Regions from separate parts of the Homo sapiens genome. Here all the other regions are linked to region 1. Evidence: promoter capture Hi-C in human tissues and cell types (Jung and others, 2019). All regions are on one chromosome and are shown on one strand. Each heading gives the region's core, a stretch centred on a gene start or on the middle of the fragment in contact. The rest is flanking DNA. Distances are from core to core; before and after follow the strand shown. Region 1 holds the start of PRR20A (proline rich 20A). Region 2 has its middle 74 kb from the start of PCDH17. Region 3 has its middle 390 kb from the start of PRR20A. Region 4 overlaps LOC105370217 (a long non-coding RNA gene).

Evidence for each region. The method cuts DNA at HindIII sites, captures the fragments that hold promoters and counts their contacts. A contact is called where the count stands out against the background at its distance.
Region 2: a fragment that was not itself captured here is called in contact with the fragment with the promoter of PRR20A in region 1 in 4 of the 25 tissues and cell types used here (H1 embryonic stem cells, dorsolateral prefrontal cortex, mesendoderm cells and 1 more).
Region 3: a contact is called between a fragment that was not itself captured here and the fragment with the promoter of PRR20A in region 1, in 5 of the 25 tissues and cell types used here (IMR-90 fibroblasts, liver, mesenchymal stem cells and 2 more).
Region 4: a fragment that was not itself captured here is called in contact with the fragment with the promoter of PRR20A in region 1 in 4 of the 25 tissues and cell types used here (dorsolateral prefrontal cortex, mesendoderm cells, spleen and 1 more).

The regions. Positions count from the first base shown.
Region 1 is chr13:57,139,085-57,142,372 of GRCh38, forward strand. It overlaps PRR20A (proline rich 20A), which reads left to right and starts at 1,834. Exons shown (of 3, transcript NM_198441.2): 1 at 1,834-2,047; 2 at 2,202-2,272. The coding sequence starts at 2,221. The HindIII fragment of the contact is 47,953 bases long and covers 1-3,288 here.
Region 2 is chr13:57,556,578-57,559,865 of GRCh38, forward strand. No RefSeq gene overlaps it. Among named protein-coding and RNA genes, the nearest start is that of PCDH17, 74 kb to the right of the region's middle. The HindIII fragment of the contact is 7,029 bases long and covers 1-3,288 here.
Region 3 is chr13:56,750,824-56,754,111 of GRCh38, forward strand. No RefSeq gene overlaps it. Among named protein-coding and RNA genes, the nearest start is that of PRR20A, 390 kb to the right of the region's middle. The HindIII fragment of the contact is 4,600 bases long and covers 1-3,288 here.
Region 4 is chr13:57,475,309-57,478,596 of GRCh38, forward strand. All of the region lies in intron 2 of LOC105370217 (a long non-coding RNA gene), which reads right to left. Among named protein-coding and RNA genes, the nearest start is that of PCDH17, 150 kb to the right of the region's middle. The HindIII fragment of the contact is 3,528 bases long and covers 1-3,288 here.

The DNA.
Region 1 (3,288 bases), core at 584-3,083:
GTATTCACATTGTTCGACGCCCACTTATGAGTGAGCACATGTGATATTTGGTTTTCTTTTCCTGTGTTAGTTTGCTGAGATGGGAGGTTGACAAAGGGACACGGAAGCCAACTAAAGGAGCTCCCGGTGGCCAAAGCTGGAAACATTGAGTAACAAAGTAATTACCTAAATAATTAATAATTAAATAGTTAAGTAAAATACTTGACAAAATAATTAGTTCAATTATTAAATAATTCATCCCCTGAAGTACTGGAGTGTAAACCAAAGCATACAATAGGTGTCCATAAGTCCATACGGATATAAATAAGTGATTAAATAAACAAACATGTGGGGGAGAATGGGAAAATCCTCCACACAGGAGAACTCCACAGAACTTAGGTAGCTATTCCCCTGCAAGGAGATAAAGCAAAACTTCCCTTTTCTTTACGTATAGGCTACAGGTAGCGACTTCCAGAAAGCACAGTAGAGAAAGAGGTGGGAAAATCACTTTATGGTGGAGAAACCTAATCAACACTGCCCCAGCCCGGTGACCAGGACTAATAGCAGCAGTGATAAGCCGGCTTGATGGTGTGTACTCTAGACAGGATGGGATGGGAATGGCGCTTTCCCGCTGCAATCTTCCTGACAAAAACATATAATTCCAGTCAGATCACAAGGAATACATCACACGAACTTCAGGAGAGGACATCCCACAATATATCTGATCAGTATTCAAAGTGTCAGAGTCATCAAAAACAAGGCAAGTGTGAGAAACCGTCGCAGCCAAGGGGAACCGTGACGAGTTGTAAGGTGGTACCCTGGATGGGGTCTTGGGACAGAAAAGGTATGTGAGGTGAAAGCATAGCAAAACCTCACTTCAACAGGAAATACAACCCAAAAAAGTAATTGGCCCGGCATGGTGGCTTGCGCCTGGGGTCCCAGCGACTCGGGAGGTTGAGCGGGACGGACGGCTTGAGCTCAGGCCTTCCAAACAAGCCTGGGCACATAGCGAAAACTCGTCTCTCCAAAAAAATCCGAAAATTATCCCGATGTGGTGGCGCTCACCTGTAGTCCAGCTACTCCGGAGGCCGAGACAGGAGAATCACTTGAACTGATTCTCCTATCTCAGCCACCCCCCCCCAACCCCCCCAAGTAGCCGCAGCGAGCCGAGATGGCACCGCTGCACTCCAGCCTGGGCTACAGAGCGAGAACCAGTCTCTGTAAAAAACACAAGGATGCAAACCAACCAAATAACCCACTGTGGGATCCCCTCCAGCGTCCTGCTGTGTTTCCCGCTGTCTTCCTCCACCCGTGAGTGCACCCACAGCAATAAAAGCCAGCGGTGTGGGTCTCACACGCATCTCCAGCCCCGTCTCACACGCACCACCTCCGGGCCTGGACTTGGCCTCCCGTCCATTCCCAGAATGTGCCGGGCTCCCTTCCAGTCCGGGCCTCAGCACACTCTCTTCACTCCCCTTCCTCCCTCCCTGCCTCTCCCAACCCGGTTCAGGATGACTAATTTCAAACGTTATGTTCCAGATTTCAGCCCAGATATCCCCGCTTTGGATGCTTTCCTTGACCATGCTCAGATCTAAGCTAATCGCATCTTCCTGTCAGCCGCTTTCAGGGCACCACACCTCATTGTGCTGACACTCAGAGGTCATTATGCAATTTTTTTTCCTCGATGATTAGATTAATCAATCAACCACGGACGTCTAGAAATGGCGGCATCTCAGAAGGGCCCCCATTTGACTGGCAGGGGACTGGCCCAATGCGCCTCGCAAGCCCAGCCAGGCCCGCCCCAGCCGGCCCCCCTCTGACGACGCCTGTCCCTTACGCGACTGCCTTGCTGCCATATAAGAGGGACGGCGCTCGGCCTCCAGCAGTCGGCTTTCTGCTGGGCTCGGAGCCAGAACCTGCTGCGTGCTCCCTCCAGACTCCCTGGCTGCGGGTGGACTACCTCAGAGCTACAGCGGTGAACCTGTGGACACCTCCGACTCCTCGGGCCTCTCTTCGTCGAAGAGTCTCCTAATTTTCAGATCTCCGGAGCCAGCTGTGGGAAGATCAGGTGTGTGTCTGGGGGTCCCGGAGGCGTGGACGGATCTCGGGTGGGTGCAGTTGGGGACAGAATCCTCATTCCCCTAGAAAGGCCACGGCCATCCCCCTGCCTTGTCACCTCTGTCTTCCTAAATCCGTTCTTGCTCTCTTGTTTTTCTCCCCAGCCCCTCCCGCCGATTGCTCATGGAGGAACCAAGGCCTTCGAAGCGACTTCGCTCCATGGCCCCTAATCAAGGTACATCAAACGCCTGCCACTCCTCTCTTTTTAATTTCGTCTGTTCCCCAATTCTTCCCCAATGGTTGACACTCAAACTCAATCAAGCATTCTCTGTTTCACCTTCTCCTAGCCTGCCTCAACCTGGGCTGCTTGTTGGAAGTCAGCTCCCGGGTTCCACATCATCTGGGAAATTCCTTTCCCTCTTCCGAACCGTAATCCCATTTCCCAAATCTGAGATTTGCTGTTGTTGTCGCTGTTTCCTTCTGTTTAGTTTTGTATTACTGTTTCTCCGTAGCAGAGCGAGTCCTCACGCTACGTCTTGATCTATGATAAACCGGTACTTCCACCTTGTTCTTTCCCGGAGGAGTTGGAATTTTCCGGCTGTTGCCACGTTGTTCTCCAAAACTTTTCCCTTCATACGCTGAGTGTCCTAAATCTTTTAATCTTGTCTAGTTTGACAGATGCATAACAATAAAGCATCCACTGAAAGGAAATTCTTTAACATCTTGCTTGTCTGAAACATCTTCATTCTCCCCTCCCAGATTCTTCAGCGAAACTTCGGTTGGACAGGAAATTTTAGGTGGGAAATTCATTTCCCTTGAAATTTCGAAGACATTTTCTGTTATGTTCTAGACTGAACTGCTGCTTTTGAGATGTCTGACTTTTGAGACATGTGGAATCCTAGCCCTTTCCATGTGACTTTTCCTTTCTCTGTCTCCCGCTCTCTAGAATCTGTTAGAATCTTCTCTTTTTCCTCAGCACTCTGAAATTTTCTGGTGAAATGTCTCAGCCACAGCATACCTCTAATTCTCTTATATTTCATCCTTCTTTCCATCATTTTAGGTTTTTGCTTTGTTCTGTGGGAGACCTTCTCAACTTCATTCTCCAACTTCCGTGGAGAGTTTTGTTTCTTCTCTCACAATTTTAACTTCAGAAATCCCTCTTTTCTCTGAGTATTTATTTGTAAAAGTATCCTATAACTGCTTGACGGGTGAAGTTCCTTCTGTCTCTCTCTGCTCACGCTCCGCTTCTCT
Region 2 (3,288 bases), core at 509-3,008, 420 kb after region 1:
CACTGAGTGAAAAAATCTATTTGAGTGAGAAAAATACTTACGCAAAACTAACTGAGAAAAATAAGAAAGATGTTTGTACCACAGGCTATTCATAGGACCTCTGTTGTTAACATGATGCTACTCCATTAAAAAATAAACACAATGTTTTAGAAAACTTAAGTACGCAATTTTTGTTACTTTTTTGTAAAAGTACTTATATCAATTTCTTTCTATTGTTCTACTGCCAACTTACTGAAAATAACTGAGATAGTCAATGAGACCCTTTTTATGAACTAAAGTGACTGAAAATTACTTTGATGAAGATGAGGATGATGACAATATAATGACAGGGATACGATGCAGACAGCAGCTAACACTTCTCAAGGGCTTACTGTGTGCCAGACAATCCAGGTGAATTCTCATCTAGAAACTTATAAAGTGGATGAGATTAGAGCCTTCATTATGTACAGGGAAAGCTAGTATAACTAAACAAAGTGTGCTGGTAGCAGACCTCGGCAAACTGAATTCAAAGATCATATTTTAATTACTCTACTATATTTACCCTTGAAACAGACAAAATCTGGGTTCTTCCTCAGGTAAAAACTTTCAGGGTATTGGATCATATATTAAAGTTCTTCATCAAAGACACATTTCTATTATTTCTGATGAGAACAGGAAATTATAATTAATTAACAATGGGCAATGGTAAATGTTCCTTCAGTTAAGGAAGAATGAAAAGGCTAGGGTCAACAATCTTCACACCAGCAGCTGGCTCCTTTCACATTTGGAGCAAAGATTGTAGTTTTTAATTTGTATGCCATTAGTTTATTTCTGTTCTAAACTGAGAATACTATAGTAGTAATCTTCAAATATAATATATAATATAGAACAAAATCTTTCCAAAATAAATTAATTTGGGCTTCTACTGTGTCAGAAATCAGCCTTATCTAAAATAGGGGTTGAGTAGGTCAATATGTTGCTTTGAATTATGAATTGAGTGGGGAAAAGTAAAGACTGGAGATAGAAGATAAACGTTTCTATAATATTCTACATCTTTGATTTATTTTCTTTGCTAGGTTTAGTTTTATAAGTCTGAGTTTATGGCCACTCAAGCATTTGTTAAATTATGTGAAGAAAGAATTAAAACAATTCCAAACTATAGTTAACAGACATTTTGATGTTTATTATTATGAATAGCATTTTGTGCAAAATATGCATTACTTTTAGAAACTAGTATCAACTAAAATAGTATTTGTTCAATGGCTTTCTTTTCCTTTAGGAATTATTTGTGAAAACAGAATATAAAGTAAGACCAAATTGGTATATGCCTTTTTTTTTCTTTTTTCTTTCCCCCGGTGTTCCAGGGTTGTGCTCTTTTTTTTTTTTTTAAAGGTACTAATAAAAAAAAGGCTACACAAATGAATTTGAAAGGCTTTAATTTCGGTAAATGAGGAAAATGCAAATATAGTAATTGTCATAGCCGAGGAGTGGCTTAGCTTTGCTGTCTGATGCCTTTTACATCTTTCTAGTTGCCATGGCTTCCTGCCTATCATGTTCATGAGAAGCATTCAAAGCAGAAATACTGTAGGAGGATTGCTTGTCTGAACACACATGTTATTTAAGGCCTTTATTTCTGGCTCACTTACAGTATTCACTGAAACATAGAGTGAATGGTCAAACAAGCTCTACTTATCTTTATTCTTGCTTGATCAATGTCAGGATGCTTTAACCTGGCATGTTTATTTTACAGAGTGGTTTTTCTTTCGGTGTTCCTCGAGTGTTATCAAATCAGTGCCTCCTCGTGGTCAATAAAAGTAATAACATGATTTCTTGCATTGTCACAGTAAAGCGCACTTGGTGAGCCTTCTCACCAAAAGAGAAGTAATTTAGATCAACATGGCTAATCTAGGACTCACAATACTTTACTCAGTCAATAGTTTCTTGAGTACATGAGTCACTCTCCTGTTTCCACTGCAATTACAGTGTCTACATTTATCTTAAACAGAAAAGGATCTATAAATGTGTTCTCCAATATAGTAGCCACAATTCACATGTGAATTATTAAATTAAAATTAAAGCTTCAATAGCCAGAAAGTTCTATTGCACTGTGCTGGTTTCTGGGGCAAAGATAAAATATGTATGATATATATTAATGCAAGAATTTATTAAGATTTTAAATTAAACACTTTACATTATCCGGAGTGTGATCTATAATTTCTATTTATAAAACATTACTCTGTTTTACAATATTTCCTCTTTGCTTTTGGACATATTTTCAAATTTTCAAGTCCCGTATTCTACTTTGAAAATATGATCGCTTGACAATAAGTAAATTTGTTTTCTTTAGTTTTTCTATAGGGGGCATATAATATTTTGAACTGGAAATAGCAAGCAGGAAGAACCATTTTTTATTATTGTGACCATTATAAGTCATTATAGTTAAAATAATTTTTGTTGTTAGTCACCTGTCATTATTATCTAAGGACATTTCCAGAATACAGATTACATCAGAGATATCAATATTACATAAATTTATATCCCTTAATATCACACTATTACTTTGAAATTAATCACACACACACACCCATACACACACATACAATAGTTCTCCCAATCCACAATTTGGCTTCCACAGTTTGTCACCCGTGATAAACCACTGTCTTAAAATAGGTTAGTACGTTACAATAAGATATTTTGAGAGAGAGAAAACACATTTGCATAATTTTTATTGTAGTATATTGTTACAGCTTTTCTATTTTATTATTAGTTATTATTACTCTCTTACTATCCCTAATTTATAAACTTTACAACAGGTAAGTATGTTTTAAAAAAACATAATATATATAGGATTCAATACTATCCATTGTTTCAGGCATTTGCTGAAGGTCTTGGAACATATCCCCCATGGATAAAAGGAACTACTGTATATATAATATATGTTATATATAGGTGTGCATGTGTATGTGTGTATAATATACATTATAAATACATTTCTTCCTTTAGATTGAATAATGATTTGACTATCATAAAAATTTTCCTTCATATTTAAAAATACTATTTCCTTTAATAGTTTGCAATTAAAGTTAAATTTAAGTATTTGTCAATATTTTGTGTTATATGTAATCCATGAATATATACTCATTCAGACATGTAATCTAAGACAATTCTTATCATTTATTATTTCGTGAATGAGAAAGTAACAAAAGCAGAAATACAGTGACTTGTAGTTAGTTGTAGTTGCTCAATGGTTACTTTTAAAGATAGAATTCCATTAGGTCTTACTGCCTATACCAATCTTTCACTTTTTTA
Region 3 (3,288 bases), core at 552-3,051, 390 kb before region 1:
AATTCACACCTGTGGGTTTTTCTTATTATGTAAAACCCCAGCGCATTCCTGTTTGTTGTTGTTGTTGTTTGTTTGTTTGTTTGTTTGAGACGGAGTCTTTCTCTGTTACCCAGGCTGTAGTGTAATCGTGTGATCTTGGCTCACTGCAACCCCCACCTCCTGGGATCAAGCACTTCTCCTGCCTCAGCCACCCGAGTAGCTGGGACTACAGGCACGCGCCACCATGCCCAGCTAATTTTTGTACTTTTAGTGGAGACGGGGTTTCACCGTGTTGGCCAGGCTGGTCTCGAACTCCTGACCTCATGATCCACCTGCCTTGGCCTCCCAAAGTGCTGGGATTACAGGCTTGAGCCACCGCGCCAGGCCTGCAATCCCATTTTATGTTAATCACAGCACATGACAGAGGTTTTTATGGTACTTGCCATAGCAGAAATAAAAATTTGCACATTTTATTTAAACCAACAGTTATTTTTCTTTGTATTTTACAGTCTTAAGTGAAATGTTTTTTAATCAGTTATTTACAGTGTGAAGAGTGCTCTGAGATTGAATTTCTCAGCATATCAAAACCAAGTCAGCCTGTTATTGATGGCTGTGATTTACTCAGTGAGCAAAAATTTCTCTACTAACAATGTTATATCTATCTTTATAAACATTTTTAAGACATAAAAGACAAGTAGCACTCATTATATAGTCTCATGATTGCTTTAAAACATTTTAGCAACTAGTAGGGTAGACATGAACAATGTAAATTTACACTGAGATGTAATGCTAACAGAATTGACATATAAATTTGGCTGGAATCAGTTTGTCAATAACTGGGTTGCAGTCCACTGTAGGGCATACCTGTGTATACCTTACAAACAAAGCAAAGCTTTCTATGCAAAGGAACAAAAATATTATACTATATTCCTGGTCAAGCCCCAAATAGGCTATTTTGAAACATTTTTCATTGACACATATTTTCTAACAAGAACAACCGATTTTTTTTAAGAGAAATATTGGTAAGGAGAGAAAAGAGAACACATCATATAAAAATTAGGGTATGAGAACAATGGATACATTATAACATATAATAGTATTTTAATGGTATTTGTTCCTAGTTTCTTTCAACTTATTATAAATAATAGGCAGATTTTTCAAGGAAAAGTGATTTCCTGGGAGTGGAAAATGATCACATCCTGAAAACTTTGTCTTCTAAAATGGGAATACTCTGAGCAGGTAAGAATCTAAGTCTATCCTAAGGCTTTGCCAGTTTAACTAGCCCACAGAACTGTCTGAAAGATACCAGCAGTAACCATACAGGATGGATTTCAAACTTTCTCATAACTCTTTTAAAATAATAATCCTTGTTTATTAGATATTGACTGGAGTTGTTCACAAAGCTTAGAGTACCATCTGGGCTGTAAATTCTGTTTAGAGAAAATAGAGTATAAAATTGTATAGAAGAGCCTTCTTTAAAAGTAAGGTCCAATGAGGAGCGCCAGGGGAATGTTGCAGAATGATTATGGTGTCATAGAAAAGGGAGAGGAACAAAGAGCGTTTATATTTATCAGAGAACTTATAATTATCACTTGACATCTTCTTTCATTGAAATGACAAGAGTTTTTTTAAGCCAGGTAATTTTTACTATCAGCACCAGATAGCGGATGAGAACAGTATTAACAGTTCATGAAATTTTAAGAATATCTAAATGATTCCGTGAAAATGAGATCAGATTAATTTAAGTATTGATCTTCATGTGTAACAATACTGTAATAGGGCTTTCCTGTGTGGGAATTAAATGTCCAATCACAGAATCCAAAGTTCTTACCTGTTGAGTAACCCTGTCTTAGACGATCAGTGGAACAAATCAAATGACTTCAGGAACTGTGACCATAACCTACACCAGAAATTCCTAGATTTTGTTGTGTTTCTGAATCATGCTAGATTAGTTCAGCCAGCAGCCTGAGCTCTTGATTCACTTGCTTTGGGGTGGTAGCCTGAGAGCTTGCATTCCTAACAAATTCCCAGGTGGAGCAGCTGCTGCTGGCCTGGAAACCACTCTTAGGGAGCCATTTCTTACCCTCACAGAGAGCTAGCAATAATGTTGGCTTCATCTGTTAAAGGGACCACTGTGAATAATGCAGAGATGTATGTGGCTGCTACAGACTTCTAACAAGGAAAATGTAAACTGTAGACTGCTATGGGGATTTGAATCCCTCTCTGTTCCTGATATTTACTAACTGTGACTTTGGGAAAGTTACTTAAGTTCTCAAGCTTTACTGTTTTTATCTACAGAGTTTTGATAAAATTGCTCCCTACCACTAAGGCTGTAGTAATAATTGAAATAATCTATGTGAAGCTCTTAGCACAGTGGCCAGATTAAAATGAATACTCAAAAAATATTGGCTGGGCGCAGTGGCTCAGGCCTGTAGTCCCAGCTCTTTTCAAGGCTGAGGCGGGTGGATCACGTGGGGTCAGGAGCTCAAGACCAGACTGGCCAACATGGCAAAACCCCGTGTCTACTAAAAATGCAAAAATTAGCTGGACGCAGTGGCGTGAGACTGTAGTCTCAGGTACTGGGGAGGCTGAGGCAGGAGAATTGCTTGAACCTGGGAGGCAGAGGGAGGCTGCAGCGAGCGAAGATCATACCACTGCACTCCAGCCTAGGCAAGAGAGGGAGACACTATCTCAAAAAAAAAAAAAATAGCTACTTTTATTATTAATTGTGGCTACATAATTTAGAATACAATAATTCAACTAATCTCAGGCCATTGAATAAACAAGAAAAATAAACACACTTCTCAGAATTTCCTAATTAACAATTTCAATAGGAATTAATTTTCATTTTCTTTTAAGTATTACTTACAGTTCTACTCTCACATAGACCCCTTCCAGTTCTTCGCAGCAGGAAGGAAAGTTGACTGAAAGAATTGCATCCACTAATATCCACACATGAAACATCAGATAGATAAAAACATACAAACCATTACAGTTTCTCACCACATAATTTCCTTCCTGTTCTCTACAAGGGTGTCAAATATAAACTTTAGAGCAATAAAATTACACGGGATGGATTTTTTTTTCCTTTTGTATGTGCCTAAATATCTAAATGTGGAAATAAAATAGTCCTTCTTACTGTTCTGTATTTTTCTTCTCTAAAAATTAATAAATGAAAAAAATCCCATACATGTAAAACTATTCAACAATCAAAAATAGGGGTGTCATGTTAAGAAATCATAACAAATATCACCCTAATAACTATACTTATAACTATACTTATACTTAGTGAATGCATTAAAAATCTGA
Region 4 (3,288 bases), core at 438-2,937, 340 kb after region 1:
TTGTTTAAAGGAAAAATGTAGATAGACACTGTAAAAAAAAAGAATTCTAAAGAGAATCAGAATAATATAGATTTGGTGCAGGCAAGAAATTTTATCATGAACCTAGTGTATAAAAAGATTATGATGTGCTAATATAATAGAACAATCAATGAAAGGATAGTTTAAGACCAAGAAGGATAACAAAGGTAGAAGATACTTCATAAAATGCATGAAAACAGATAGCATACCAGTTGCATCTATGAAAGAGCATTATCTCCCCACGTAGACAAATTCTTAAAATACAGCTGAGCTAAAATATCTTTTCAAAGTACATTATCTGGGGAAAATAAGCTATCTACTTGAACAACATATTTGCATTTTTACTTTAAATTAACATGCTATGACATTATTTACTTGGAGATTATGAAGCTGGTAAACATTTTTTTTCTCATGTTGCTAAATCTCCAAAGATTTATCTGCATTCATCAGGAAGTTCAAAATGAAAAAAAAAATTGTGAGAAGAGTTTCCAGTCAAGCTATCTCAGTATCAAAATATTTTTTGTTTAACCTCGTGCTTCAACACTTTATTGTATTTCTTGTCTTTATATAAAACTATAACCTATTCTGGAGATATTTGGTTTTCCAATTTACTGAAGTCTCTGTACCAGATAGTACTATTTCAGCTATAAGGGATACTTCGAGTTACATCAGCGAGATGGTTAAAATAGGAAGCTCCAGGCCCTCTTTCTTTTCATGAAGACACACATTCAACAACAATCCATAGACCAGTTTCCTTTGTGAGACATCCAAAAACCAGATAAGAGGCTTCTGCATCAAAAACAAACATTAACTAGTTGTATCAAAACAGAAGAAAAATTTGTGGCACCCTCTGGCTATAGTCACTTTCACAGAAAAAAAAGATGCACAATTCAGAGGAACTCAGGTCCTGGCTTTTTCCTGGGGAAGAATAGTGGAAGGTTAGAATATGCATCCAATGTTCTGAACTTTTGAGGGGGCTGTACAAGGTACTGTCTTCTGTTCAACCTGTTGCAAAGCACTGACATAACCTAGCATTCTTTAGATGCCTGGAGAACACTGAGAACAACAACGACAAATAAAGTTGTTCAGCATGTTACTGCTCCATAGAATCTTCAGTACAGCAGACAGAAGCTTTTACAGTGTGGTGACTTCTCCTTCAGGGGGAAAAAGAAGGGTGTAGCAAATGTTCAAAAGGCCAGTATTTTGGGGGCTTCCTAAGAGATCAGTTTCCATGTAGCTCAACCCAAGACACTTACGGGAACTTGGCATATACTAGATTCCAAGGGGCTATTGAGAAAAAATATTTTAAAAGAGCTGGTTGGCATACTGCTGCTTCCAAGTTTACATGGAAGAGCAGACTTACATCAGAGGGAGTAAGAAATTACAAGTTCCTAGAAAAAATTATTTTAATTAAAATATATATGCACAAGACCAAAGAAGACATACCCACAGAAAAGTTTTAAGAAGACCTTGGGATTTGTAGCTAGGCTAATTAGTAAAAGGTCTTCTCCTGTACAAACCCAGTCCATAAAGACTGGGAGAAGAGATATTTTTTTCAAATGTGTGCATATCAACATTTTCAGAGATGGAGCTAAGTTGCCCAGGCTGGACTCAAACCCTTAGGCTCAGGTGATCCTGTTGCCTCAGTCTCTTGAGAAGTTGGGACTACAGGCATAGACCACCACTCCCAGATTTCAAAACAAACTTATAAGGATCAGTTAAAAATATATATATATAAAATGGCCCAATCCAAGGGAAAAATAAATCTCTCAAAACCAATCCTTAAAAACAGAGGTATATAAATTACCTGACAACAAATTCGAAATAATGATTATAAAGACAATTGATGAGCTCAGGAAAACAATGCATGTAAAAATGATAACTTCAACCAAAAACATGAAATCATAAAGATATTTTGAGCCTAGGACCTTAAAGATATAAAGTGGTTCAGCAGTAGCAGAGTTGACCAAACAGAGGAAAGAATTCATGGACTCAAAAAGAAGCAATGAGAAAAAGAAAAGAAAGAGTGAAGAAACCAAAAAACTATGGACCACCATTAAGTCGGCTAGTATACACAAAAAGAAAATCCAAGATGAACAAGAGAAAGAGAACAGCATCATCCTGATACCAAAACCTGGCAGAGACACAACAAAAAAAAGAAAATTTCAGGCAAATATCCCTTATGAACACAGGTGCAAAAGTCCTCAACAAAATACTGGCAAACCAAATCTAGCAGCACATCAAAAAGCTTATCCACCAAGATCAAGTGTGCTTCATACCTGGGATGCAAGGCAGGTTCAACATATGCAAATCAATAAATGTAATCCATTACATAAACAGAACCAATGACAGAAACCATATGATTACCTCAATAGATGCAGAAAAGGCCTTTTACGAAATTCAACACCCCTTCATACTAAAAACTCTCAATAAACTGGGTACCAATGGAATGTATCTCAAAATAATAAGAGCTACTTATGACAAAACCACATCCAATATCATACTGAATGGGTAAAAGCTGGAAACATTCCCTTTGAAAACCAGCACAAGACAAGGAAGCCCTCTCTCACCACTCCTATTCAACATAGTATCGGAAGTTCTGGCCAGGGTAATCAGGCAAGAGAAAGAAAGAAAGCGTATTCAGATGGGAAGAGAGGAAGTCAAATTGTCTCTGTTTGCAGATGACATGATTGTATACCTAGAAAACCCCATCGTCTCAGCCCAAAATCTCCTTAAGCTGATAAGCAACTTCAGCAAAGTCTCAGGATACAAAATCGATGTGCAAAAATCACAAGCGCTCCTATACACCAATAACAGACAAACAGAGAGCCAAATCATGAGTGAACTCGCATTCACAATTGCTACTAAGAGAATAAAATACCTAGGAATACAACTTACAGGGAATGAGAAGAACCTCTTCAAGAAGAACTACAAACCACTGCTCAACGAAATAATAGAGGACACAAACAAATGGAAAAACATTCCATGCTCAGGGATAAGGAGAATCAATATCGTGAAAATGGCCATACTGCCCAGAGTAATTTACAGATTCAGTGCTGTCCCCATCAAGCTACCATTGACTTTCTTCACAGAATTAGAAAAAACTACCTTAAACTTCATATGGAACCAAAAAAGAGCCTGCAATGCCCAGACAATCCTGGTCAAGAAGAAAAAAGCTGGAGGCATCATGCTACCTGACTTCAAACTATATTAAAAGCTACAGTAACCAAAACAGCATGGTGTTGGTACCAAAACAGACATATAGACCAA